Linked DNA regions of Homo sapiens: region 1 is linked to region 2. Evidence: promoter capture Hi-C in human tissues and cell types (Jung and others, 2019). All regions are on one chromosome and are shown on one strand. The core of a region is centred on a gene start or on the middle of the fragment in contact, and the rest is flanking DNA. Distances in the headings are between cores, read along the strand shown.

Region 1 (3,019 bases), core at 183-2,682, 1.6 Mb before region 2:
CGATCTCAGCTTACTGCAACCTCCACCTCTCAAGTAGCTGGCACTACAGGTGCCCGCCACCACGCCTGGCTAATTTTTTTGTATTTTTAATAGAGACAGGGTTTCACCAAATGGCCAGGCTGGTCTCGAACTCCTGAGCTTGTGATCCGCCTGCCTCGGCCTCCCAAAGTGCTGGGATTACAGGCGTGAGCCATGCGCCCGGCCAGGGCTTTTTTTTTTTTTTTTTTTTTTTGAGACAGAATCTCACTCTGTCACCCAGGCTGGAGTGCAGTGGCATGACAGGATCTTGGCTCACTGCAACCTCCGCCTCCCTGGTTCAAGGGATTGTCCTGTCTCAGGCTCCTGAATAGCTGCGACTTCAGGCGCATGCCACCATGCCTGGTTAAATTTTTGTATTTTTAGTAGAGACGGTGTTTCACCGTGTTAGGAAGGATGGTCTCAATCTCCTGACCTCGTGATCCGCCCGCCTCGGCCTCCCAAAGTGCTGGGATTACAGGCGTGAGTCACCGTGCCCCGGCTGCTATTAATCTTAAATAGAGTAGATCAAAGTCACCAAGCCCCTTCTTGGAATATATTTACATATCTGTGCTCAGGGAGAAGGAATAATCTATGCAAATCCACTGCCAGTGGCTTTATTTCTCTAAGGCAGATATCTTCCCAAAGAAATAAGAGGGAAACTTGTTCCTTTATATTTCAAATAAAACAAAACAAAGAAAGATGCCCTGAGATTCTACTATGGTGGAATTTTAACTGGATTTCACCAAGAGAGGAGCCTATCATTCATTATGCAAATTAAGGAGGAAAAAAACCCCACTCTAGTCATTTCAACCAGTAGAGATTTAAATGAAGGAATTAGTTAATGTTGGGAAGTCCAGAGGACGAGAAGCTTACTCAATGAGTAGTAACTACTAACCATTTCTAGACTGGGGAAGCAAAATCACTGAGCAGAGGCCAAGGGTGCATGCAGCTAAGGCTTCTGTTATTGAAGCCCAGCTACCTGAACTGGAGCCCAGGAGCCTGCAAGCGCAGGCTGCTGTCGGAGTCCCCGTGGCTTCGTCTGCCCCAGACTTCACTACTAATGTTGCCCCTGCCATCAACGCTATTGCCGCCTCCATTCTTTTATCACTGGTGTGTAGTGCTGGAACTGCTGGAAACAGCTGCTTTTTCAACTGCTCAAAACTAGAAAAAGAGAGTCACAATTCCCTCCCTCTTGCCTTTTAATCTCTTTCCATTGGCAGAATCTGACCAAAAGTTTGTAAATGTAGATTACAGAATCTAACACACAGCAGAGCACAGAAGTGTGAGAATGAAGGTTGAAAATGTGAAAGGAAAATAAATCTTGGGGCCTCAAAAATCATTAAGCTAAGGGGAAAAGTCAAGCTGGGAACTGTTGAGGGCAAAGTTGCCTCCCATTGTATTCAAAGTCATCCCTCTGCTCACTGAGATAAATGCATATCTCATTGACTACTTTGGAAAGGCTAATTAGAAACTCAAAAGAATGCAACCATTTGTCTCTTCTCTACCTATGACCTGAAAGCCTCCTCTCTGCTTTTGCTTTTTTTGAGTGGTCCCACCTTTTTTTTTTTTTTGAGTTGTCCTGCCTTTGCTTCAAGTCATCCCACCTTTCCAGACTGAACCAATGTTCATCCTACATATGTTGATTGATGTTTCATGTCTCCCCAAAATGTATAAACCAAGCTGTGGGCTGGGAGCGGTGGCTCACGCCTGTATCCCAGCACTTTGGGAGGCCTAGGCGGACGGATCACAAGGTCAGGGGTTCGAGACCAGTCTGGCCATCATGGTGAAACCCCATCTCTGCTAAAAATACAAAATTAGCCAGGTGTGGTGGCAGGCGTCTGCAATCCCAGTTACTTGGGAGGCTGAGGCAGGAGAATCGCTTGAAACCAGAAGGTGGAGATTGCAGTGAGCCTAGATCAGCCACTGCACTCCAGCCTGGGCGAAAGAGTGAAACTCTGTCTCAAAAAAGAAAAAAAGAAAAAGAAAAACAAGCTGTATTCTTCCCACCTTGGGCACATGTCATCAGGACTTCCTGAGGCTGTGTCACAGGTGCACATCCTTAACTTTGGCAAAATAAACTTGCTAAATTGACTGAGACCTATCTCAGATATTCAAGGTCCGCAAGAACAAACAAATAACCAGTCTGATAAGTCGTAAGAAAGTTACACTCTGTCACATGGACCCTAAAAAGGCCAAGACACTCACTCGCCTTCCCAAGAAGAGTCTCTGTAGAGACTCAATGGTAAACCTGTAGGCAGTCAAGAGTCTCCTGTCCTCAAACACCTAGCAAGCAGTGCTATATGAAGGTACTAGGAAACTTTAACTAGGAAACTTTAAACAATTGAAGATTCTCGACTTCAGATAAGGGATAGGAACAAAAGCAGTACTGATAATATTGAAATACTGTTTTGTGATTGCATTTGATAGTGGGGAAAAGGACATATGAAACCCTCCAGACTTTTTCTCTTGGTGCCCTAAAACTTCTGGCTCATTGAGATTAAAAGGATCAAAATGCAATCTTATCCAGGGATAAAAGGCATTTTTACAATTGGAACTCTAAAATAGTATGTCATCCACTTTAGGACAAAGTGGATGGAGAGAATAAGGCATAATATCAAATACAAGTCCCCCAAATAGAAAGTTACAAGGGTGGACAGAATGTGGAAAAAAACTAAGACAAACCAAATGAGAACAAGCAAATTCTATTTATTCAGAGATTGCTATAGCTAGGGAGTCAACCACTGTCACTTGTATTTTGGCAGACACTCCAAGGCAGGCAGAGGAGTAGGAAAGTTTTATTGTAGGAAAAAGGAAAGGCTTCAACTATGCCCCAGTTAGAGGCTGTTGGCATGAGGAAGCTGTAAGCAGGCAAACTAGAAACAGGAATTCCTATGTGATTGGTTAGGGGTACACATTTGGCTTTCTCTGATTTTTTTTTTTTTTTTTTTTTTTTTGAGACAGAGTCTCACTCTGTCCTCAGGCTGGAGTACAGTGGCGCAAT
Region 2 (3,367 bases), core at 180-2,679:
TAGAGTACAAATGACAAAGCCATAACCATTGCCATTAAGGAGTTCATAAATGTGTGAGTGGTGCGTATGTGTGAGACAAAAGGGAGAGGATGGCACAAAGGAGGAGTCGAACAAGATAAAATGAAAAACATATATAGTAAGTGCTTTACCGTAAGTGAATGAACGAGAGTACTAAGGAAAAAGAATGGAGACGTATTTCAAGTTCTCACGTTGTTTGACTCGAATCTTGTAGACGGTGTTTGCTGCAAAAAGATGAAGAAAACATTCACAGACATTTATGTTGATTACATATTTATTGCTATGTGCCCAGACGTTTTGACCTTGGGGATAAAGTAGCAAAGAAAACACAAAAATCTCTGTTGTATTGGGTTTACATTCTATCAATAAAGATACAACTTGCCCAGAGAAAAGCCCTCTCCTGGTTAGGAAACAGTATCAACAATTAACAGCTCTGGTGGTTTCACAGAGCCACAGTGGGCTGCCTGCTGCAGACAATATCAGAGTTTGTTTATATTTAAATATTATTTTAATATTTCTATTTTTGTCCATGTATTATAATGCACATCTATGTAATTTGCAAATCATCACTCATATATACATCATATCAAAAGGTGTAAAAGTTTTTGATAGAATTCAGCATTCATTCGCTTATAAAATGAGTGAAGGCTCACTTTACGGATGAGAGTATTTCATCAAAAAAATTGGGGATCTACGACTCTAGAGTTCTCCGAAGTCCACCAAGGAAAAAGTAACTTGAATTTAATCGCATTTAAAACTATATAGTATCCACTCCTAAAACATTAGCAACATAGGAAAACTTACACAGCGGAAGAAATGACTGGGGATTTTTTTTTTTTTTTTAATACATGGTCTCGCTCTGTTGCCCAGGCTGGAGTGCGGTGGCGCGAGCACCGCTTACTGCGGTGTCGACCTCTCGGGCTCGAGTTATCCTCCCACCTCAGCCTTCCAAGTAGGTGGGACCACAGGCACCACCACTCCAAGCCCGTATATGGTTTTTAAATAAGACAAATTGCAAAAAACGTTGCCAGACAGCGTTCGCTGGTTTGGGCCGTCACTGGGTATGGCTCGTGTCCGTCTAGATATTCAGAGGCCGAGCACAGTCCTCAGTAGGGCTGCTCGGCAGGTACACAGCTGACGCTGGTCCTTGGACTTATGGGAGTGGGAACAACTTTCAACTCGGCCGCGGACCAGGAAGGCGTTCTGACCCGCTAGAGCTCGGGGACAGGGACCCCATCCCGGTGCCTAGAGCGTCTCCCTTAGTCGGCGTGGGCCAGCGCCAGTTACCTCACGAGCACTGAACTAGCGCCTGCGCCCTTCTATACTTCTCGCTCTTTCTTCAAGTCACTTCTACCCGGCGAGCCCGCCCTCCCGCCAATCGTCATTTCCGGCGGGTGCTCTGCGTCATTTACGTCGTCACTTCCTGCCGATGCCGGTGTGGACGCTGTGAATCGTGGCTGGCCCGGTTCTCCGCTTCTCCCCATCCCCTACTTTCCTCCCTCCCTCCCTTTCCCTCCCTCGTCGACTGTTGCTTGCTGGTCGCAGACTCCCTGACCCCTCCCTCACCCCTCCCTAACCTCGGTGCCACCGGATTGCCCTTCTTTTCCTGTTGCCCAGCCCAGCCCTAGTGTCAGGGCGGGGGCCTGGAGCAGCCCGAGGCACTGCAGCAGAAGAGAGAAAAGACAACGACGACCCTCAGCTCGCCAGTCCGGTCGCTGGCTTCGCCGCCGCCATGGCAATGAGACAGACGCCGCTCACCTGCTCTGGCCACACGCGACCCGTGGTTGATTTGGCCTTCAGTGGCATCACGCCTTATGGGTATTTCTTAATCAGCGCTTGCAAAGGTGAGCAAGGCCGCAATCCTGGTCCTCGACGGCTGGGACTGGGCTGAAAGGGATCGGGACCCGCACGCTCCAGTGCCGAAGCGGTGGTGTGGTGAGGGGGGAGGGGGCGATATTAACATCTGAGATGAGAGCCAACACTGGTCCGGTGGAGAAAGGAGTGTGTTAGGGAATCCGCAGCTGGAGCCGAGAGGACGCTTTTGTAGAAACTATTACCTCCAACTAAGACCTCTCTCCTTATTTTATTTTTATTGCTATTTTTGAAGGAGCTGGTCAGCATTTGCCTAGACTCTCGGGACAACACGGTAAATAGCTTTCAAGGATTTGGGGAAAGGAGAAATTAGGCCAGGCCGTGCAATACCTTACAAAGACGTTCGCTCTTGTCTCACTGGATATTCCTTTGTGGTATTAGCCTCATTTTTCAAATGGGAAACTGAGATTCAGGCTAAGATGTCTGTCCAAAATAAGACTAAAATCTAGATTGTTTTGACGCAGATCAGTATTCCCAGCCAATTACAGATGCTTTTCAGAGAGAATGATCTGTTCAGCTCTTCAGTTAATTTATTACTGCACATTCCTTAGTGCCTTCAGTGGGTGGTGGTAGTTAAATAGCTGAAACAATTTTTCCACTTTGTCATTGAACATCATTGTATATTTACATTTGAATCTTAGACTTTAAGTAATCTGAACTTATAAATTACATGTTTTAAAAAATATTTTCTAGATGGTAAACCTATGCTACGCCAGGGAGATACAGGAGACTGGATTGGAACATTTTTGGGTCATAAAGGTGCTGTTTGGGGTGCAACACTGAATAAGGATGCCACCAAAGCAGCTACAGCAGCTGCAGATTTCACAGCGTAAGTGTAGCCAAGATGGCTAACTTTGGTGTTCTCTGTAGCTTGTGTCCTGAAATAATCAAAAACTTCAGTGTCAGATATTCATAAAATTCTGACTCACTGGCTGCCATACAGAACGCATGTTTGATCCCACCAAAATTCCATCGTGGTCCATCGTGGTCCTGTGTGCTTCTTTGTCTTCAGTGGTTCTCAAAATTTTCAGAGGCCTAAATGACTTATTCCGTATATTTTGATTGAGACTCAGGAATCTGCATTAACAAACGCACCAGATAATGAATGTTGATCTCCTTTACGAATGCTGCTCTGTGTGTACTCCTTAGTGATATCCTACATTGATGGCCCTAGGTTTTTATTTCAATCCCGGTTTTTGTTAACTGGCTTTAGGCATCATTAAAACTCATTGTGTCAAAAACAAACAAACAAAAAAACAACAAAAAAACAAAACTCAGCTGCTCGTCATTTCCTAAGTTTTTAAAGGTTGAAATCTAAAGCATTCTTGATTTTCCCTTATATCTAGATTATCATCATCTTTTTTGATTCTGCCAGCGGGATGTCTCCTGACTCCAATGTTCCTTCATGTAGTAACTGTGGCTGCCTTAGTTCAGGATCATTTTTAACTTTCAGTAGTTTCTTTTCCTCCTATTCATT

Evidence for each region. The method cuts DNA at HindIII sites, captures the fragments that hold promoters and counts their contacts. A contact is called where the count stands out against the background at its distance.
Region 1: a fragment that was not itself captured here is called in contact with the fragment with the promoter of STRAP in region 2 in 1 of the 25 tissues and cell types used here (lymphoblastoid cells).

Annotation. Positions count from the first base shown.
Region 1 is chr12:14,266,893-14,269,911 of GRCh38, forward strand. No RefSeq gene overlaps it. Among named protein-coding and RNA genes, the nearest start is that of ATF7IP, 97 kb to the right of the region's middle. The HindIII fragment of the contact is 4,901 bases long and covers 1-3,019 here.
Region 2 is chr12:15,880,958-15,884,324 of GRCh38, forward strand. STRAP (serine/threonine kinase receptor associated protein) reads left to right here and starts at 1,430. Exons shown (of 10, transcript NM_007178.4): 1 at 1,430-1,862; 2 at 2,584-2,719. The coding sequence starts at 1,751. It overlaps LOC102724146 (a long non-coding RNA gene), which reads right to left and starts at 1,341. Exons shown (of 6, transcript XR_007063230.1): 1 at 823-1,341; 2 at 150-242. RefSeq lists enhancers at 848-1,077, 1,388-1,507. The HindIII fragment of the contact is 37,030 bases long and covers 1-3,367 here.